Regions from separate parts of the Homo sapiens genome. Here regions 1, 2, 3, 4 and 6 are each linked to region 5. Evidence: promoter capture Hi-C in 16 types of primary human blood cells and fetal thymus (Javierre and others, 2016). All regions are on one chromosome and are shown on one strand. The core of a region is centred on a gene start or on the middle of the fragment in contact, and the rest is flanking DNA. Distances in the headings are between cores, read along the strand shown. Region 1 has its middle 120 kb from the start of WT1-AS. Region 2 overlaps WT1 (WT1 transcription factor). Region 3 has its middle 100 kb from the start of WT1-AS. Region 4 has its middle 65 kb from the start of WT1-AS. Region 5 holds the start of CCDC73 (coiled-coil domain containing 73). Region 6 has its middle 130 kb from the start of WT1-AS.

Region 1 (3,588 bases), core at 266-2,765, 480 kb before region 5:
GATAAGTGATCACAGGATCGTTTCTGGGGGCTGAGAAGCTCTCCCCATAGCAGGGATATCAGCAGGTTAGGTCACCCCATGACAGGGAAGGCGGAGGAGTGTATTACCTGGGTTTCCAGAATTGGATAAACAAACCATCAGCGCTCAGACCCCACAGGTAACGCAGAGCAAAGAGGGTCTTCAGAAAGAAACCTCAGATGAACTAGGTTTATTTAAAAATTCCTCCCCAGGCCATCCTTATAATAATTATAATCTTTTTTATTGGTTGGTGGTTATATTATAACCACCAAGGGGTGGTTTCTGTAAAAGCCAGATTAGGTCATCCTGGTCTGCCTTTTAGAAGTTTCCACAACAGATGGAGAAACACAGCTTTAGAGGAAAGTATGGCTCACATCCGTCTGCATTCATTACAGGCCCAGTTCTCCAAAATGCTATATGTTATCTTGAGCCTGTTTGTTTTTATCTGTCAGAGTGGTTTATTGTTAGGGAAATAGGGTGTCAGCTGTCTCTTCCCCACCATCAAAGCCGCTTCATTAAAGTTAATAGTGTTTGACTTGCAGAGATCTCTTACCATGGTAACCCTAGAAAGCCCCTGCTGGCTGTTATTTTTCCGGCAGTAAAGGCACCAAATGGATGCAATAACTGCATTAATCTTTTAGGAAAAAGAGAAAAAAAAAAAACATTGTGTGACTCTACCTAGTAGGTGCTCAATAAATGCACCTTGAATTCATGAGGCTAACTCTACCCTCCTGTGTGGGACGGGATGCAGAACCAAATGACCTGGGTCCTGACCCTGCCACTCAAGGTTCTGTGGTCTGTGGCTTGTCACTTCCCCAGGCTAAACCTCAGTTTATTTATCTCAGAAATAAAGGGGATGGATTATGAGGAAGCCTTTTTTGTCCAAGAGTCATCTCACAAGGAAGCCTGATATATAAAAGCAGGTAAAAACAAATTTACTTCTGGATAAAGGGAGGGAGACCAGAAGTCCTATGTCCTCTGCATTCTACCTTCCTCCACAAGCCACCACCTAAACCTCATTCTTTTCCTTCCCCCAGGAAGTCCTGAGCAACCTCTGTGGGCTGCCTTGCCCACCCTAGACTTCCTGGAATAGCATCTGAAATCTACTAGTCTGAAGGAATTCTCACTAAGGTCTTTTCTGCTCAGACTATGGCTTCAGTGCTTAAGTAGGCTGGAGTCAAACCACATGAAGGCAGTTTCTAATCAGCATAATCACTTTATGGAAGAGTTTCTGCTTAGTGCCTTACAGGCATGAAACAGGGTTTTGCTTTGTTTTCTATGTTTTGATCTTCTCATCACTGCTTTTAGCTATGTGCTGTCAAATCTCCCTTCCCTCCTTGAGTAGGGGATCTCGGGCAAGTTCCATCACTTCTTGGTCACTGTCACTTACTGCTAGTTAGTTCAGTTTTTGTCAATCATGACTCAGTTTAAGTCTCATCCCCTCTCTCCCTGGCAGGGCACTGGAGCTGGAAGTGTGACTCTTTGGGGTACATCTTCACCGCATGGGTCACCCCCTTGAGTGGGAGAACCAGCAGGAGACTCAAACCTGAGAGCTCTGCACCAGCATGCTCCTGACCGTGACACACTCAGGCATCCTTACCACATCAACCAGTGCTGTGGAGGCTGCCCCAGGGCTGGCCCTCTCTGCACCTTGCCATCTGTCTCCAGTTCTCTTCTCTGCACCAGGAGGCCAAGGGACAGATCTACAAGCCCTCCGACCAAGCACATGTCCAACAGGGAAACCTAAAGCCAGTTTTCCTTTCTTGCAAGTAAGAAGAAATATCTTCCCTCATTTAATCTGTTGCAGGAATTCCCCTGCCCATTGTCATTCCCTCCCTTTGGAAAGAGAAGAAAACCATGAACACTATTCCCCTGAAAGGGTGCAACCAAGAGAACTCTCTCCCTCTTTGCCTCCCACCAGCACCTTTGCAAAAGGCCTTCAGGGTAAAAGGCGGCTGAGTCAACAGCTGGAGGTAGGAGGCCTGAGTGGGCTGCCCTATAGTAGACTGGCAGGTAGGGGAGTGAAGAAGGGAAGGGGAGGAGGCCACAACTGTCATTGACTTTCTTTAAAATGTTGCATTTGCAGCTGAGGCTCTAGTTGCCAAATCCAATACCATAGGAAAAATCCCACCAAACAGCCTGTACACATGTAATACTAGGATGTCTATCAGAATATGTTCATGTTTATGCATGTGGCTCAGACTTGGATGGGTACCAGTACAGGCACCTGTGTAAAACTCTGAAGAATCCCAAACCACATGTTTAGTTTTATTTTTTGGCCCAAGCCTCTGAGGGAGAAAATAAAACTAAAGCAAAGAGAACCAGTCACTCATTCATTCATGCACACTGTCCACGAGCCTTTCCTTATACAGGCAGGTGCTAAGCACTTGGGTGAGGCAATAGAGAATAAAGCATGGTCTCTGGCCATTATTATTCAGAACCACAGAAATAACTCCACTGGTATAACAAGAAACTTTCATATCCCATAGCTCATTAGGGTCCTAACAACAACCTCATAAGATGGCCAAGGTACATATAATCACCGTTTTAAATCTGAGAAACAGAAACACGTCAAGGGTAAGTGACTTGCGTAGTCCCACAGCTAGATAAGTGCAGGGCAATGATTAAAACTTAAATCATCTGTTGGTCCCAGACTGTTTCTGTTTGGCCAAACCATAACAAAATGAATCTGCGACTTCCTTGTATCTGCCATTACAATGGCTCTACATCCCACACTTTCAAGGATTCATTCAATTTCTAATATTGTGTTCCCTTGTCTTCCAGATTTTCCTTGTCAGATCACTTGTACTAATTTTGAAAATACAGTCACTCCGCCCAGTGCGGTGGCTAACATTTGTAATCCCAGCACTTTGGGAGGCCGAGGTGGGCAGATCACTTGAGGTCAGGAGTTTGAGACCAGCCTGGCTAACATGGTGAAACCCTATCTCTACTAAAAATACAAAAAGTAGCTGGGCATGGTGGCGGATGCCCGTAGTCCCAGCTACTCAGGAGGCTGAGGCAGTAGAATCGCTTGAACTTGGGAGGCGGAGGTTGCAGTGAGCCGAGATGGTGCCATTGCACTCCAGCCTGATGACCGAGTGAAACTCAATCTCAAAAAAAAAAGAAAAGAAAAGAAAAGAAAAGAAAAAGAAAATACGGTCACTCATATTAGTTTTGGGTTCAATAAATACAACTATCATAGATTATCTTTATTATTTCAAATGGACTGAAGTCCAATTTAGACTTTATAGCATCAAGACTAGGCAAGAGTCTCAATTTTTCAATCCATCCATCCTTTGGTATAGAAAATGATTTCACGACACACATTATTTAAGCTATTCTGAAAACCACACTAATGTTCTCTTTATTAATATTTTTCCAGTTTCAAAGCCTTCCATCAGGCATTTCTGTCAGGCTTCTGAAGGGTCCCATATGCACCCTTCCAGTTCAGAAATGTGTTCTTTTTTGGTTCATTGGAATTCTTCAGAATATCTGGCACTGAAACATATTGGCTTCAATTAAAAGGCTATGATTTCTGTGAATTCCCATTAAGCTAGTGAAAGAAATCTG
Region 2 (3,049 bases), core at 372-2,871, 400 kb before region 5:
TAATCCAACAACTTTAAAGGATTTATGACCTTCACATAAAGGGCTCAGCCCAGAGCCTGGCATAGAAGGCGTGCTCAAAAACTATTAGCAAATAAAAAACAAAATCTTTAACTCCCAGGCAGAATCTGAGGCAGAATTCTGGGATGCATGTGCCTTGAGGTCAACCTCATGAAATAAGAGTTTTATGTTTTAGGGCCCAAAGATCTGGTGTTCTTTGCTACTGACTCCTTGTTCTTGCATCAAGCAAATATGACTCCATGGTTGTGAGACCCTCAAAACACACCAAAAGCACTGAGAAAGTTTTTGGTGTGCTTTATCCAAGAGAAGTCAGTAGTGGGATTACCCAACCTCCTGTCTCAGAATGGAGAAGCCTCACCCCTGTCCTCACTAGAGAAAGTTCAGCCAAATACTGGGACCTGAGCCCCAAGAGAAGTGAGCAACCCCAGGCCTTCCCACCTTCTTAGGAGAATCCTGAGTCACAGGCATCTGGGATGGAAACAAGCCATTCTAGAATCAGTCAGGTCTTTCTGTTGCAAAGGCAGCCCCCTGTTACCTTTCCAATCTCAAAGCCTGGGCTATTTCCCTCATGAATCTCTATTCCCCACTATGCCAGAGCTCACATCCTGAAGTCCTCCTTGCACTCTGCTCACACTAAATGTCCCCCATCCCTATCTCCACATCGAAAAGTCTCCTGGGTGTCTCCTTCTTCTGCAATGCCTGCTTGGAAACTGCATGGGCCAATTTCCCTTCCTTCCCTCATTACGACATTTATTCCAGGCTGTCTAATGTGGTGAGCTGTGTCTGGGTCTACAATTCTACAATTCTTCAATGGGTTGGAAAATCCTAAGGGCTGGAGCCTTTTTATTTTTATTTTTTCTCAGAGACAGAGTCTCTCTCTGTTGCCCAGACTAAAGCGCAGTGGTGTGAGCCTAGCTCACTGCAGCCTCGAAACCGTGGGCACAAGCAATCCTCCTACCTCAGCCTCCTGAGTAGCTGGGACTACAGGCATACACCAGCACACTTGGCTAAATTTTTAAAAATATTTTTTTTAGAGACAGGGTCTCACTATATTGCCCAGGCTGGTCTTGAACCCCTTAAGCAATCCTCCCGCCTACGCCTCCCAACATACTGGGATTACAGGTGTGAGCCACTGCACCTGGCCCCTTTCTTTGTATTTGTATCCAGGTTGGTGCCTTATGTTTCACCTCTGTGAGCTGGAGAAGATGTTACCCCTATTGAGTCTGATTTCCTTCCCCTGCCTTTGAGCTTCTGCTCATCTATCACTTTCTCTGCCCAAACTACCAGCCTCCACTGGCTAACCCAAGCTGTTCTTCCTCTGAGAAACTTTCTCGGATGACCTTAGTTCAAACTGATACCCTCCAAACCCCTCGGTACCTCCTGTCTCTGATTTAGTACATGATCATGTACTCTCTCAGTCACTTTTCATTTCTTTATATCCTAGCTCCCAAACAAACCAGGAACTCTTTGAGAAGGAGGATTATAACCTGCAGTTAAAAAGAAGGAGTTTGAGTCCTCTTTCTGCTATATCCTATACTCTTCATAAATGTTTTGTGAGTGAGGATTAAATGAAATATACATGTAGAGAGCCTGACACCCAAAAAGTACTTAATATAACAGTCTGTACTGTTGTTATAAATAAATAAGAAAATATTGCTCTCTTTCAAGGGGGACTGTAGGATTGTTAAATACCAACCTGCCCTCATCTTCTGCAAGGAAGAGTTTCTTAAAGGCTCCAGTGGGTCTGGGGTTTTGGCTGTCTTGTTCACTGCCTTCCCTTCACACAGTTGTCTAACCCTCACTGCATTCTAAGTGCTTCTCTCTCACTAAAAGTTTCTACAACCATATTGCCTTCATTTATTCCCTTGCATTTTTCAGGCAGGACTTTACTTTCTCGTTTTCCTTATAACCTTGACAGTCACTTTTCAAATGATCCCATTTGGGGAAATGTGTAAAAACATAACATGCCACTGGTCCCCTCCTTTTTAGCCTCAAAGTCTGTGGCCCACTGAGTGCAAACTCAGATTGACACCAGAATTGCATCCTCTGGACACAGTGAATTAGCAAATTTCAATGGTCCAAGGAAATCTGAATGCAGCTCACTTTTTTCTCCAGCTTCCCAAGAGCAAAATCAGCAGTAATAACACAGTTGCAACAGTGATCCTATAATAATGCTGTTCTTCGATTGTGGAAAAGGCAGCAGTAGCTCCTCTGTAGGAAAACCTGGGTTTTACCACACTCCCACACTCCCACCTAGTGCCCACAAGGCCCAGAGTAAACGTTCTGTGACATGGCTGTCCACATTCAAGGTGGCCAACACCAAACAATGCCAGTTCTCTGTTTCCCAGAAGCAGCCTCTCTGACCTGGGGGAAAATCCAGTTTCATTGGCGTATCTTCAAAGATAAAAAATCATCATCTCTCTCTCTCCTTTTTTTTTTTTTTGGCAGAGTCTTGCTCTGTCGCCCAGGCTGGAGTACAGTGGTAAGATCTCAGCTCACTGCAACCTCTGCCTCCTAGGTTCAAGCAATTCTCCTGCCCCAGCCTCCCAAGTACAGGTGCGTGCCACCACACCCGGCTCATTTTTGTATTTTTAGTAGAGACGGGGTTTCACCTTGTTGGCCAGGCTGGTCTCCAACTCCTGACCTTGGGTGATCCACCCACTTCGGCCTCCCAAAGTGCTGGGATTACAGGCGTGAGCCCCCATGACTGACCTTTTTTTTTTAAGTGATCACTAAAAAATCAAACTAACAATCAATTTTCCCCTTCCTGTCTAGTTGATTATTACTGACCCAAGCAGGTAAGTTTTTCTTTGGACCATCTCTTCTAAAATTTCACAATGATCTTGCCCATCGACCTCCTAAAACCATCTGATGACTATATTCCCAGGCCAGCTCCTCTCTCCTTAGAAATGCTAATAGTATTCTAACACCAACACGATTCCTACACAGGTCTCTTTAATTCTGTGGCACTTTCTCTCTACCACTCTGCTCTGCCTTTCTGGAAGACAGTTTACTGACCTCTGTAATAAAG
Region 3 (3,885 bases), core at 1,018-3,517, 460 kb before region 5:
GGAGAGTCACTTGAACCTGGGAGGTGGAGGTTGCAGTGAGATGAGATCGAGCCATTGCTGAGGCAGGAGAATCGCTTGAACCCGGGAGGCAGAGGTTGCAGTGAGCTGAGATCGCGCCATTGCACTCCAGCCTGGGCGACAGAGTGAAACTTCATCAAGAAAGGAAGGAAAGAAGGAAAGAAGGAAGGAAGGAAGGAAGAAAAGTTTTCATGGAAATTTAGTATTCTCAAAACCTAGTACAAGGCGGGATAAGAGATATTTTGTTAAGAGTGTAAAGATCAAAGTCCTTTGTTCTTTGTTGGAAAGAACTTTCCCCTGGATTTAAAAGAACACGCAGTAATAATCTGGGCAGACATATTTACATTTATACGTCTGACAAAGGTCTTTTTTAAAAGCCTTTCATGTCCTTTATCCTTTAAACTTTTATAATATAGGTTGAAAGCACGATATCATCTTTAACTTCCTGTTCATGTATTGGGAGATCTTTTTCTTAGAATTAATGAAGACTTCCGCCCTGCTGGAATGTAGTTTACCTCCCTTGTGCCAGAATTTGAATTAAGAATGCCGTGTACCTCTAATTGCAACTATGTAAAAATAAGTGCGCACGAGGATTAGGAAGGTGGGAGTATAGGAAGGGGCGGAAGTTGTTTTTCAATATTCTTTTTTCTTATGAAAACTGGGAAGAAAAGAATACATTGTGCACAACTGCGCAGTCTCCTTGTCCTCGATGTTAATAAACGTGTTTTTAACTGCGGTTTACATCCCATTTCTAACATCACTACAACCTACATCCTCTCCAGGCTACAATTGAAGTTGAAAAGTGCACGAGGTCTTTACAAAGCCTCGTACAGTGAATGCGTCTGCGCACGTACAGTCCTCGTGCACCCTTTTTCTCTCTCTGGACAGAATTTCTTGGGGATCCTTCGCCCCCCACCCCCACCCCCGGCCGTATTTCTCCCTAGGCTCTTATTAAAACCAGGTGCACGGAAGGCGGCCCATTCTGGACAGAAAAGCTTTCGTTTGACCCAAAGCTCCCCCTTCCGGCGTGTTTTCTAGAGGGAATTCGTGAGCTGAGCCGAGGAGCGAGCAGGCGGCTTCTCCTGACCGGGGAGACGCGGGAGGTTTGCAAACAGACCTTGGCCTGGGCTGCGCAGGGACAAAGTGTTCAAGGGCAGCAGGGGAGGCTGAGGGAGTACACGGCTGGGAACAAGGGACACTGCCGCCCCCAGCCACGCAGGAGCGGTGTCTGCACCACTGAAAGTCCCCCGGGGCCCACAGCTCTATCCAGGCGGAAGGGAAGCAGCCAGGCCGCCGCGGATCTGAACTTGAATCCCGGGTGGACCGGACGCCCCGGCCGGCGCTCCTGACGCGCGGAGGAGCTGGCGAGAACCTGCAGATCTCAGGGCTCGCCCGCGGTCCGGCGCTCGGTTCAGGACGTCCGGGAACCCCGCAGCGCTTACCCTCTGCAGCAGGCGTCGCTGGCGCCTCCAAGGGCAGGGGCGGGTCCGGCGGGTACAAGTCGCGATTGACGCGACGGCCCAGGCAGGCACTGTGGGCTTCACCGCCCGCAACTTTTGACCCTAGAGGCCCTGCGCTGCAGCCTGTGGCCCGGAGGGACAGAAGTGGGAGCGTGTTTGGGCCACTCTGCAGCGAAAACGACCTTCCCTCATGGAACTTTCAGTAACTAACTCCTGAGAGCTGCGAGAGCTTCACACCGCCAGGCCCCAACCCGACTCTCTAGGCTGAGGGCATTGACTACCTGTTAGGGTCAAACATTCGAGTATTTGCGTCTTAATTTGACTCTAGAGTTATTCAAAGTAGAGCGACAGGCCTCAGAGGGAGGAGGGGCGTTGTTAGAACACAAAAAGGACACAGAGAGGAACAGGGACCTCAAAAAATGGGCTTCCAAATTGTAAGTGGCCATTTCCTATTCCTGAGGCCTGTTTTTCAAGCCGGCCTGTTTGTTCAGTTTCCCTGATTACCGCTTTTCAAAGCCCATTACCAAGCTCTATACAGCCTTCCAGCGTGACAGCCCTTGCTTTCTGAAGGGATTGCTGAATTTTAAGTACTCCTAGCAAAGAGACAGCTGCCCGAACAACGTTAGAAAACCTTACCATCCCAAACGTTTGCTTGACACTGGCTCCATAAAAGCCGCTTGGAAGTCGGTCAGCCAAGGGTTGTGCCCTGTTTGATGTTAAAAACTCTTCTCAGCCTTAAGCCTAAAATCCTGTGACAGGTAACAAGGGAATTCCAGATAAGTTTCCAGATTCAAGCAACTCTGGTGATTTCTGACAAAACAGTCAAAACAGTCTAAGTTTCTCAAATTGTGATCCATGGACCACTGACATCAGATTCCTTTTTCTCGGCCCCTCTGCCAGCGGGGGCACCCCCTCTACTCGGCCGGCCTGCCAGGCTCAACCCCTTGCAGGAGGGAGCACGTGAACAAGTGAGGGCAGAACCCAGCTAGCTGCTCCAGGCACAAAACAGGAGCAAGTTCTGTGCGGGGTCCTGGCCCGGAAGCCCCAGAGAGGGTGTTACAGTGCTCCTTCAGTTCCTCCATTGGCGGTTATATGGAGGGCGGTGCGTTAGCAGCTCAGCCTCTTGCCTCATGGTGGCTTGGGGCAGCTGCCCTCTACTGGCAAGGGCCAGTGTGACAGCCTTTTCTGGGTACCCACACGTGGTGAGTCCCAAGCTCTTGTCCAGGTCCAAGAAGAATGAGGTCACATGGACTGTTGAAGGATGGTGAAGGTGGAGAATTTTACTGAGCCATGAAAATGGCTTTCAGCAAAGAGGAGATGCAGGGTTGGTCCTCCTACCCAAAGGCGGGAAAGTTCCCCCGTGTGGCTGGGTCTGGGGCCTTTATGGACTCAAAATGGGGAGTGTGTGCTGATTGGTGTGTGAGTAGGCTAAAAAGGTTAAAGCAAAGACACCACTCAAAGGTGGGTATGACAGTGTAGAAAACCAATTAGGAAAGGGTAGGTACTTGTAAAATAAGTGAAGGGTGGGGACCAATCAGGGGAAAGCACACCAAACAGGAAGACAAGTTCTCAATCAGCTGGGAGGATTTAACTTGTAGCTTGGCTTTTCAGCTTTAAATTGTCTTCAGTTTGGAGGCGGGGTTTCACCGGGTACCCACCCCTATCTATCTAGGTGTTTGGCTGCTTCCTATCACTATCAGAATGAGCTGCGCAGGGTGGCTCAGGCATGTAATCCCAGAATTTTGGGATGCTAAAGCAGGAGGATTGCTTGAAGCCAGGAGTTTGAGACCAGCCTCGGCAGCACAGTGAGACCCTGTCTCTACAGAAAAATTAAAAAATTAGCTGGGCATGGTGGTACATGCCTGTGGTCCTAGCTACTTGGGTAGCTGAGGTTGGAGGATCGATTGAGCCCAGGAGGTCGAGGCTGCAGTGAGCCATGATCATGCCACTGCATTCCAGCCTGGGCAACAGAGCAAGACCCCCTAAGAAAAAAAAAAAAAAAAAAAAGCAATGAAGTCCAGAAACCAGAAACCTGCTTTGTAACAAGCTTGCCTTATGAGGTTTCTGCTCACTAGTTTAAGAATTACTAGACTCTGTCTTTTATCTGACTTTGCTGAAATGGTACTTGTTTTCTGGAGCCCTCACTCAAAAATCTCAGCAGTGTAAAACACTCTTTTTATCAAAAAAAAAAAAGCACACTTAAGTTTTGCTTCCAAATGAATGTGACTTATTTCAGAGGAGTCATGAGTACTTTTAATGAAATTCTGCCTAAAGCAATACTTCCCACTGTATAGAGCTCTAAGCACATCCTAGTGCTAAGTAGGTAGATTATGCCATGTGCTTTCTACTAATCTTGGGCTGTTTGTCATTCTAAGCCAGACACCCCTTGCCCTGCCCATTTTTCTTC
Region 4 (3,840 bases), core at 190-2,689, 430 kb before region 5:
TTTGGGTGGGGACACAGCCAAACCATATCATTCTGCCCATGGCCCCTTCCAAATCTCATATCTTCACATTTCAAAACCAATCATGCCTTCCTGATGGTCCCCCAAAGTCTTAACTCATTTCAGCATTAACTGAAAAGTCCACAGTCCAAAGTCTCAACTGAGACAAGGCAAATCCCTTCTGCCTACGAGCCTGAAAAAATCAAAAGTAAGTTAGTTACTTCCTAGATAAAATGGGGGTACAGGCATTGGATAAATATACCCATTCCAAGTAGAAAAAATTGGCCAAAATGAAGGGGCTAAAGGCCCCATGCAAGTCTGAAATCTAGTGGGGAGGTCAAATCTTAAAGCTCCAAAAAAAAAAAAAAAAGATCTCCTTTTACTCCATGTCTCATATCCAGGTCACGCTGATGCAAGAGGTGGGTTCCCATGGTCTTGGGCAGCTCTGCCCCTGTGCCTTTGCAAGGTACAGCCTCCCTCCTGGCTGCTTTCACAGGCTGGTGTTGAGTATCTATGGCTTTTCCAGGTGCGTGGTGCAAGCTGTTGGTGGATCTACCATTCTCAGGTCTGGAGAACGGTGACCCTCTTCTCACAGCTCCATTAGGCAGCACCCCAGTGGGGACTCTGTGTGGGGTTGCCCACCCCACATTTCCCTTCTGCACTGCCCTAGCAGAGGTTCTCTATGAGGGCCCCACCCCTGCAGCAAACTTCTGCCTGGATATCCAGGCATTTCCATACATCCTCTGAAATCTAGGCAGAGGTTCCCAAACCTCACCTCTTGGCTTCTGTGCACCTCCAGGCTCAACACCACGTGGAAGCTGCCAAGACTTGGGGCTTGCACCCTCTGAAGCCACAGCCTGAGCTGTACCTTGGCCCCTTTTAGTAATGGCTGGAGCAGCTGGGACACAGGGCACCAAGTCCCTAGACTGCACACAGCAGTGTGACCCTGGGCCCAGCCCACAAAACCATTATTCCTTCCTAGGCCTCCAGGCCTGTGATAAGAGGGGCTGCTGCAAAGTTCTCTGACACACCCTGGAGACATTTTCCCCCATTATCTTGGTGATTAACATTCAGCTCCTCCTTACTTATGCAGATTTCTGCAGCCGGCTTAAATTTCTCCTCAGAAAATAGGATTTTCTTTTCTGTTTTCTCTATCAGGCTGCAAATTTTCTAAACCTTTATGGTGTTTCCCTTTTAAAATTGAATGTTTTTAACACTTCTTGAATGCTTTGCTGCTTAGAAATTTGTTCTGCTAGATACCCTAAATCATCTCTCTCAAGTTCAAAGCTCCACAAATCTCCAGGGCAGGGGCAAAACGCCACCAGTCTCTTTGCTAAAGCATAACAAGAGTCACCTTTTCTCCAGTTCCCAACAAGTTCCTCATTTCCATCTGAGACTACTTCAGCCTGGATTACATTGTCCACATCATTATCAGCATTTTGGTCAAAGCCATTCAGCAAGTCTCCAGGGAGTTCCAAACTTTCCCACATTTTCCTATCTTCTTCTGAGCCCTCCAAACTGTTCCAACCTCTGCCTGTTACCCAGTTCCAAAGTCACTTCCACATTTTCAGGTATCTTTTCAGCAGCGCCCCATTCTACTGGTACCAATTTACCATATTAGTCAGTTTTTATGCTGCTGATAAGGACATACCCAAGACTGTGTAATTTAAAAAGAAAAAGAGGTTTAATGGACTCACAGTTCCATGTGGCTGGGGAGGCCTCACAATCATGGTGGAAGGCAAAAGGCACATCGTACACAGCAGCAGACAAGAGAGAATAATAGAACTTGTGCAGGGAAACTCCCCTTTATAAAACTATCAGATCTCATGAGACTTATTCACTATCATGAGAACAGCATAGGAAAGACCTGCCCCCATGATTCAATTACCTCCCACTGGGCCCCTCCCATGACACATGGGAATTGTAGGAGCTACAGTTCAAGATGAGTTTTGGGTGGGGACACAGCAAAACCATATCAATCACCATATTTATGAGTTTAGTTTACTAGAATTTAAAGTGTTGTTTAGGTTCCCAGGAAAGTTTTGTTTGTTGACTCAGACTGGTATAAGGAAGGAAGGAAGGAAGGAAGGAAGGAAGGAAGGAAGGAAGGAAGGAAGGAAGGAAGGAAGGAAAGAAGGAAAGAAAGAAAGAAGGAAAGAAAGAAAGAAGGAAACAAAGAGAGCAGTAAGGACAAGAGACATCCTTGTCTGCTTCTGTTTTGAAGGAGAATTGCTTTGGTTCTTCTAATATTGGCTTTTGCATTTAATTTTTTAAATCTTTTTTTTTTGAGATAGGTTCTCACTCTCTTGCCCAGGCTGGAGTGCAGTGGTGTAATCATAGCTCACTGCAGGCTCAAACTCCTGGGCTCAAGGGATCCTCCCACCTCAGCCTCCCGGTAGCTGGGACTACAGGCATGTGCCCCCATTCCCAACTAACTTTTTAATTTTTGTAGAGATAGGGTCTCACTATGTTTCCTAGGTTGATCTCCAACTTCTGACCTCAAGCCATCCTCCTGCCTTGGCCTCCCAAAGTGCTGGAATTACAAGCATAAGCCACCTTGCTTGGCCTAATTTCTAAAACTTTATATTATGGAAATTTTTAACATGCACAAAGATAAGACAGAAAAGTACACTATTAAACCCCCATGTGGTCACTACTCAGCCTTCACAATTTTTTAACATTTCTCCATTCCTGTTTTATTCATTCTTGTTTTATAACCCCACTCCAAACATTCTTTTCTCCTCCTCCTTCTCCTTTTTTTGCTTTGAGGTCGTGGTCATGAGGCAGACTGGAAGGTTTTTTTTTTTAACTGAGGTAAAAATCAATGAAATGTACAGATTTTAAGTGTACAGTTTGATGACTTTCATTAAATGTATATGCCCAAGTACTCAACAATCCAATCGAGATAAAGAACATTTCATTACCCTAGAAAATTTCCCTGTGCCCTCTTCCAGGAAAACATCACCCTCCACACACAACCACTTTTCTGATTTATATCATCATAGAAATGGTGCCTTTTCTTGAGCTTCATATATTAGGAATGACGTGGTATCTTCCCCTTTGTCTGACTTCTTTCATTCAAACTTTTTTGGGATTCATCCATGTTGTTGCATATATCAGTTGTTCATTTTTCAAATTGCTGGATAGTATTGCATTGTATGAATGTGCCACACTTTATTCACTTATACCTTCTCCCATTGATAGACATTTGGGTTGTTTGCAATTTTTAGCTATTCTGAATACAAGTAATATAAACATTCTTATACAATTCTTTTTTCTCATTCTTGTACAATTCTTATTTTGGATATTTGTTTTCATTTTTGTGGGGGTAGATAACAAAGAATATAGAATTGCTTGGCCATGGGGTAGATGTATACTTAGCTTTATATGGAACTGCCAAACAGTTTTTCCAAAATGGCTTTGCTATTTCACACTCTCCTCAGCAGTGTATGAGAAGTCTAGCTGTTGCACATCCTTGGCGGTATTTGGTGTTGTCAGTTTTTTCCACTGGAGCCATTTCAGCAAATGTGAAATGGCATCTCATTGTTGTTTTAATGTGCACATTGCTATGGTCTGAATGTGTCCCCCCAAATTTCATATGTTGAAATCCTGACCCCCAAGGTGATGGTATTAGGATGTGGGGCCTTTGGGAGATGATTAGGCCATGAGGACAGAGCCCTTGTGAATGGGATTAGTGCCCTTAGAGAAGAGGTCCTAAAGAGTGAATTCTTTCCCTCCACCATGTAAGGACACAGCAAGGGGCCATCTATGAGCCAGAGAGCAGCCCTCACCAGACACCAGGCCTGCACCTTGATGTTGGACTTCCCAGCCTCATGAACTGTG
Region 5 (3,821 bases), core at 10-2,509:
GGAATTTATCACAACTAAAGCAAAATAACCAATAATCATCAATTCGAGGATCTCAATATAAGCAGAAGACTCCGTGGAATCTTCACATTTTCTTTCTAAAAGAAGTGCACTGATCATAAAGGTTCCCATAAATGACTTAAGGGTTGTCACTTATTTTCAGCAGCAAAGTGAAGTGGAAGATTGCAGCAATGACATGAATAATTTATTTTATTTTATTTTATTTTTTTAGACAGAGTCTCGCTCTGTTGCCCAGGCTGGAGTGCAGTGGAGTGATCTAGGCTCACTGCAACCTCCGCCTCCCGGGTTCAAGCAATTCTCCTGCCTCAGCCTCCTGAGTAGCTGGGACTACAGGTGCCCGCCACCACGCCCGGCTAATTTTTGTATTTTTAGTAGAGACGGGGTTTCACCATGTTGACCAGGCTGGTCTCAAACTCCTGACCTCAGGTGATCCGCCCGCCTCGGCCTCCCAAAGTGCTGGGACTACAGATGTGAGCCACCGCCCCGACCAAATAATTTATATCTAGAATTCAGCATTATCAGGATTAGCAGGGCAGTCATTTCATTCCCAGTGAGATTCCATTTAAATTTGCTCGTGCAAGGCAGTTTGGGAGAAACAAAATCACCAGCAGAATGAAGAAAAAATAGAGAAATGTCCCTGGGAATTTACACACTTCTGCAACTGCGCTAGAACTTTCGCACTATACTTAAAACATTCTGCAAAAAGTAACGTTCACCAAAGAAAAAGTCGAGATTCACCAATAACAGTTCCAAATGTTGCTAACTCTGAGCGGTCAGAGTTGTTTGAAAATTTTCAGAAGAACAATCGACATGATTGCATTGCATTCATAAGGCAAATATGAGGTTTAAAACAAAAACCACCACCACGCAAGGCACATGTACAGAAGGCGCTTCTCCACGATGAACAGACGAGACCCTCATGACTCACCCGCAGTCTCAATCCTGCCCAAGCAGAGATCCAGATGGATGCCTCAGTGTGGCTGCTTCTCCTGGGTCGGGAGCGTGGAAGATTCTAGACACAGCCCAGCAGTCAGGAGGCTCCAGGCCAAAGCAGCCCCTTGGCAACCAGAGCAAGGAAGGGTAGGTTACGCAGCTGGAGGTGCAGGGCAAACCCGTAAGTGGACCCTGCATGAAAAGATTAGGGCTGCTTCCTAAACAGCCCAACTACACGCTTGTGACTGCTCCGACTTACCTCAGCGAAGCGCGCCTCTAGCTCCTGTTGGCCCTTCCGGTTCACCTTTTCCCGCCCTAGGGCACTTCCGGCTTGAAGGTCATTAGCCTAAGATACGTGGGTAATCTTGAGCATCTGGGGCAAAATATGATTGATTTTATTTTCTTTTTAAATACAAGCTTCGGAAAAGATACCTGGATATTTGATGTTTTTCCTTAAGTACAACATGTATTGGCTTATATATTCTTTTTTGTTTTTGTTTGTTTTCGGTTTGTTTTTGGTTTTTTTTTTGAGACGGAGTCTCGCTCTGTCGCCCAGGCTGGAGTGGAGTGGCGCGATCTCGGCTCACTGCAAGCTCCACCTCCCAGGTTTATGCCATTCTCCTGCCTCAGCCTCCCGATATATTCGTTTTTTAAAAAAAAAGTCTTTGGAAAGATGAAAGAAAAATGAGTAAGTATTACCTGTGGGGAGCAATGGGAAGTGTGTGGATGGGAACGGGAGAGAGAGGGAGACTTCACTGAATAGCTTTTTATACTTTTTGATGTTTGCTTCATGTGAATGTGTTACTAATTCAAAAAATAAATGTTAGCCGGGTGTGAGGGTTCACTGGCTCATGCCTGTAACCCCAACAATTTGGGAGGCTGAGGTGGGAGGATTGCTTCAGGTCAGGAGTTCGATACCAGCCTAGGCAACATGGTGAGACCCCCGTCTCTACCCAAAAATACAAAAATCAGCCGGGCATGGTGGCGTGCGGCTGTAATCCCAGCTACTTGGGAGGCTGAGGCAAGAGGATAGATTGAGCCTGGGAGGTCAAGGCTGCAGTGACCCAAGACTGCACCACTGCACTCCAGCCTAGGCAATGGAGCAAAACCCTGTCAAAAAAAAAAAGAAAAGAAAAGTTGCTTAATTTTTAAAGTGAAATAGAAAAAAAACTGCAGTTCTAATTATACTGATAATCACACCTATTTTAAGCACCTAACTAATGCTATGTTTCAGTATGTTATGTTGAATAGTCATTCAATAAGAATGTAATATGTTTCAGGCCTACATTGTTTTTGCATGCTACCAAAATGTAAAAGAAGTGGTTCCTGCCCTCAAATTTTTTTTTTTTTTTTGAGAAAAAGTCTCATTCTTGTCCCCCAGGCTGGAGTGCAATGGCACGATCTCAGCTCACTGCAACCTCCGCCTCCCGGGTTCAAGCGATTCTCCTGCCTCAGCCTCCCGAGTAGCTGGGATTACAGGCGCCTGCCACCACACCTGGCTAATTTTTGTATTTTTAGTAGAGACGGGGTTTCACCATGTTGGCCAGGCTGGTCTTGAACTCCTGACCTCAGGTGATCTGCCCGCCTTGGCCTCCCAAAGTACTGGGATTACAGGCATGAGCCACCGCAGCCGGCCCCCCGCCCTCAAATTTTTAACCACGTTTTCCAGTAAAAATCTGTCTGGAATTCTTTTTACTCCTTCCCTTTCTCCAAGCGTTTGCCCAGATGTCACCTTTTTAGGGAAAGCATTCCTAACTACCCCATAGTAACACCCATGCACATCCCCTACTTTGACCCCACCTTGTTTTATTCTCTGTAGCACAATCACCATCTCGTCTGGTATATTTATTAACTGTATCCTAGGACACAAGCTTCGTGAAAACAGAGATGAATTTTGTTCACTTGCTTACCAGAATCTAGCACAATGCCTGGCATGTAAATGCCAAATAAATTCATATGAATGAATAAATGGACTATGACCTTTCAATTTGGTATTTACCAACCATAACAGCTATACTCTAATAATAACTAATATTTACGATAATTTACTATGTGCCAGACAATGAGCTAAGTGTTTTTACATACATCATCTCATCTTAGTCTCCACAACAATCCTATTACTATGCACTTTTTGCCTATTAGAAAACTAAGGTGTAGAGAGGCTAATGAGTTGAATGTAATCACCTCTGAATGCCCTCCTAACCCCATGCAATTTCCCCAATGATCAGTGCTATGGTTTGAATGTTTTTGTCCTGTCCACGATTCATGTTGAAACTTAATCTCCAAAGCAAGTGTGTTATGAGGTGTGGCCTTTAGGAGACGATTGAGTCATGAGGGGAGAATAGGATGTGATGCCCTTATAAAGGGGTTTTTCGGCCAGCTGTGGTGGCTCATGCCTGTAATCCCAATACTTTGGGAGGCCAAGGTGAGTGGACCACTTGAGGTTGGGAATTTGAGACCAGCCTGGCCAACATAGAGAAACCCCGTCTCTACAAAAAATACAAAAATGAGCCGGGCATGGTGGCAGGTGCCTGTGTAATCCCAGCTGCTCCGGACGCTGAGGCGTAAGAATCGCTTGAACCCAGGAGGCAGAGGTTGCAGTGAGCCGAGATCACACCACTCCACTCCAGCCTGGGTGACAGACTGAGACTGCCTCAAAAAAAAAAAAAAAAAAAAAAAAAGTAACAACTTAAAAAGTTAAAGGACTTAACCATTATTTTCACTTTGGGGATATCACTTTCAAGTCATGATACATGTGAACATTTAAAGAAACCTAACTGTTTCTATCAGCAGTTAGAAACTGCATCTATGAGCCAGGAATGGTGGCACACATCTATAGTCCCAGTTGCTTTGGAGGCTGAGGCAGAAGG
Region 6 (3,541 bases), core at 1,028-3,527, 490 kb before region 5:
GCTATTTGTGACAAGAGCACTTGTGATGTAAGAGGGCCCAGCATGGTACCTGGCTGATATGGTTTGGCTGTGTCCCCACCCAAATCTCATCTTGAATTGTAGTTCCCATAATCCCTATGTGTCCTGGAAGGGACCCAGTGAGGGTAATTGGATCATGGGGTGGGTACCTCCTTGCTGCTGTTCTTGTGATAGTGAGTGAGTTCCCACAAGATCTGATGGTTTCAAAAGGGGCTTTTCCCCACTTTGTTCAGCACTTCTCCTTCCTGCTGCCATGTGAAAAAGAATGTGTTTGCTTCCCCTTCCACCATGATTGTAAGTTTCCTGAGGCCTCCCCTGCCATGCTGAACTGTGAGGCAATTAAACCTCTTTCCTTTACAAATTACACAGTCTCAGGCAGTTCTTTATAGCAGCATGAGAACAGACTAATACACTGGCTCACCAGGGGCTGGCAGTAAACACTTCTCTGCCACCACCCTGGACCTCTCACAGGTCTGCACTTCCTCCTCCTGACCTTCTGAAGGGGTTCACTGCCCCACTCTCCCAGGACCCCCACGACATTGCTATGCTTTCTTTTTCCCCACAGCTCTTAAATCCTTTCATGACCTTGTAGCTGGGATGGGGGTGGGAGAGACAGAGGAGGAGGGAGATCAAGAAAAGAGAGTTAAAACAATCCTAGCTTCCCTCACACTCTTCCAAGGCATTCGCAGGAAAAATGCATAATTATTAATAGCAAAAGTGCTGCTGTTATACTGATGTCCCCTGCAGGAGAGGTTGGTCTCACTTAACTCTAAACCTCTTTCCAAGTGGTAGGGGCAGGAGAGAGGGAGGCCTGATCTGAGGTCGGCCAATGTGTGATGTCTAACAGAAAACACAAGGGACCTCTGAGTGGGTGTTGTGGGGGGTGCTCACATGTCCCCAAGCTCAGGCAGTCCAGAGAAGCAAACCTTTCTTCTTCAATCTTGTTTTCCTGTCACTGAACAAAAATTCCTGATGCCACTTAGACACTGAATATGGCCTTGGAGTGAAGGTTGGAGGTGACCTACATTCCCTCATATCCTGAACCTAAAAAATCTTTGACATGCTGCTGGCAGAGGCATATGGTTTTTTTTTTTTACATTTTAATTTTTAAATATTGATCATATTAGATTCATTAGATGACACAAAGACAAATGCATGTCATAACATCATCTCTGATGATTGACCCAAAATTTTAGGGTGGATTTTTAAAAGGCAATTCTTAAAGCATTTACTGCCCAGGTCAGAGTCTTTGCAGGTATGAATAGTAGAGAGGCCCAACCCTGGACTCATCTCAAATGGGGAGTAGGAAAGCTCAAAAATATCTGCTACATAATTCTACCAATTGGTTTCACTGGATCTAAAAAGTTCTCTTTTAAAAAGTGATGATTACATAGGAGAGGATTCTAAAAAGAGGCAGTCCACAGTGTAACACTGGTTTTCCCTAGATGGTAAGACTGTGGGTGATTTGGGTTTTGGACTTTTTTATTTGTCTGTTATTTTCTAGTCTATCTACAATGAACAATTAAGAGTTTATTTTAATCTTAAAAAGGCCTTCCCTGGTCAAATTAAGTAAATTCATTATGTTTGGTGGTAACCACTTAAAAATGGAAGAAAGCAAACCACAATGAGATATCACTCCATATTCATTAGGATGTTTATCATTTGAAAAAACAAAAAAAATGGTAAATAAGTAGTGTTGACAAGGACATGGAGAAATTGGAACCCTCCTACACTGCTGACGGGAATGCAAAATGGTGTAGCCACTTCAGAAAACAGTCTGGGAGCTCCTCTAAATGTTAGACATAAAGTTGCCATATGACCCACAACAATTCTACTCCTAGGTATATACCCAAGAGAAATAAAAATGTAGCCACACAAAAGTTCTTAACCAAATGTTCACAGCAGCATTATTCATAGTAGCCAGAAAGTAGAAACAACCCAAATGTCTATCAGTGGATAAATGGATAAATAAAATGTGGGATATCCACACAATGGAATATTATTTCACCATAAAAGGAATCTGTACTGACACGTGCTACAATGTGGATAAACTCTGGCAACATTATACTAAGTGAAAGAAGCAGTCAAAAAAGACCACACATTGTATGATTTCATTTATATGAAACATCTAGTTTATATGAAATGTCTAGAACAGGCAAATCTACAAGGAGAGAAAGCAGATCAGTGGTTGCCTAGGGCCAGGGGAATGGAGGGGCAAGGGAATGATAGCTGAGAGTACCGGGTTTCTCTGCAGGGTGATGAAAATATTCTAAAATTGACTGTGGAGATGGTTGCAGGTATTTGTGAATATACTAAAAACCAGTGGGTTGTACATTTTAGTGGGTGAATATTATGGTATGTGAATCATATCTCAATAAAGCTGTTACCCCCAAAATAGAAGGATGCCATCTGAATATGATGGGACTTCTGACTTATATGAAGAAGGCACATACTGACACATGCTACAGTGTGGATAAACCCTGGCAACTCTCTCAACATGTGAGAAGGCAGAACCCATGTGAGAAGAGGATGGCAAAGTGAGACTGCAGGGCACCAAGACAGGGTTTGATTTGCACCCAAACAGTCATCCTGTACAAACTGGAAAAGCCATCCCCAGACCTTAGCACAGGCCTGGGCTTCCTCTCATACACACATCCCAGCATTTTACAGTTAAATAATTGATCCCCCAGATTATTCCCATGGGGGAATAATCTGCAGACACTGGGAAAATATTGGAATGAGGAAGGCAGAGCCAGCGATCAGAAACTGACCGCATCAAAATCACAGAACTCAAGCTAACTTAGCAGTGATCTCTCAAAGTTGGCTGTTCATCAGACTCACCCAGGGAGTTCTCTTGACTATCTGTTTGGGTTTTAACATAGACTGCTGAACCCCACAACGCAGACATTCTGAGTCCGTAGGTCCAAGAGATACCCAGGAATCCTATACTTTCTAAAGTTCTCCACATCTTTCTGACCATAAACCAGGTGTAGGAACTTCTGGACCAGATGACAACTCATTTTAAAATATTTTTGAAGAAAATAAGAATAAAAGACCTTTTTGAATTAAAAAAAAACTTTCCACTTTCATGCAAGGAGAATACACAGAAACTGCTTAATAACATGTTTTTATGATCTCTGGTATAGCTACAAAACAAACTTTTAAAAGGATAAAAATATTCACGTCTCCACAATGTACCAATTCACAGTTTCAGTCAGGTGTTCCTTTCAATTTTTTTAAATTGTTCCTAAACTACTGCTTAAATATCATAGAATTTAAAAGCTGAAAGAGTCTTGGATATTACTGACTTCAGCTCCCTCATCATAGACAAGGGGAAATGTCACCCACGGAGATGAAATATCTTGCTGCAGGATTAGAACCCAGTTAGGTGTGCCCACAGTCCGTCCAGTCCCCTTTCTGCTGTGTAATATGACATTTTGCAAGAATAGCTTATGCTGGAGGTCTTCAGTTGCAGAAAAATCAATCTCTGCAGATATGAAGGAATGGCATTTAAGCTATGACT

The links. The method cuts DNA at HindIII sites, captures the fragments that hold promoters and counts their contacts. A CHiCAGO score of 5 or more calls a contact.
Region 1: a contact is called between a fragment that was not itself captured here and the fragment with the promoter of CCDC73 in region 5, in 16 of 17 cell types (total CD4 T cells, naive CD8 T cells, naive CD4 T cells and 13 more). The highest score is 28.1, in total CD4 T cells.
Region 2: a contact is called between a fragment that was not itself captured here and the fragment with the promoter of CCDC73 in region 5, in 2 of 17 cell types (M2 macrophages and fetal thymus). The highest score is 5.5, in M2 macrophages.
Region 3: a fragment that was not itself captured here is called in contact with the fragment with the promoter of CCDC73 in region 5 in 15 of 17 cell types (fetal thymus, naive CD4 T cells, total CD4 T cells and 12 more); the score reaches 14.2 in fetal thymus.
Region 4: a fragment that was not itself captured here is called in contact with the fragment with the promoter of CCDC73 in region 5 in 2 of 17 cell types (fetal thymus and megakaryocytes); the score reaches 7.1 in fetal thymus.
Region 6: a contact is called between a fragment that was not itself captured here and the fragment with the promoter of CCDC73 in region 5, in 4 of 17 cell types (total CD4 T cells, naive CD4 T cells, fetal thymus and 1 more). The highest score is 6.1, in total CD4 T cells.

What each region holds. Positions count from the first base shown.
Region 1 is chr11:32,316,626-32,320,213 of GRCh38, forward strand. No RefSeq gene overlaps it. Among named protein-coding and RNA genes, the nearest start is that of WT1-AS, 120 kb to the right of the region's middle. The HindIII fragment of the contact is 5,878 bases long and covers 1-3,588 here.
Region 2 is chr11:32,393,031-32,396,079 of GRCh38, forward strand. All of the region lies in intron 7 of WT1 (WT1 transcription factor), which reads right to left. Among named protein-coding and RNA genes, the nearest start is that of WT1-AS, 41 kb to the right of the region's middle. The HindIII fragment of the contact is 9,656 bases long and covers 1-3,049 here.
Region 3 is chr11:32,332,371-32,336,255 of GRCh38, forward strand. No RefSeq gene overlaps it. Among named protein-coding and RNA genes, the nearest start is that of WT1-AS, 100 kb to the right of the region's middle. The HindIII fragment of the contact is 2,512 bases long and covers 1,012-3,523 here.
Region 4 is chr11:32,368,212-32,372,051 of GRCh38, forward strand. No RefSeq gene overlaps it. Among named protein-coding and RNA genes, the nearest start is that of WT1-AS, 65 kb to the right of the region's middle. The HindIII fragment of the contact is 8,271 bases long and covers 1-3,840 here.
Region 5 is chr11:32,793,403-32,797,223 of GRCh38, forward strand. CCDC73 (coiled-coil domain containing 73) reads right to left here and starts at 1,260. Exons shown (of 18, transcript NM_001008391.4): 1 at 1,211-1,260. The HindIII fragment of the contact is 7,830 bases long and covers 1-1,366 here.
Region 6 is chr11:32,299,408-32,302,948 of GRCh38, forward strand. No RefSeq gene overlaps it. Among named protein-coding and RNA genes, the nearest start is that of WT1-AS, 130 kb to the right of the region's middle. The HindIII fragment of the contact is 5,608 bases long and covers 1-3,541 here.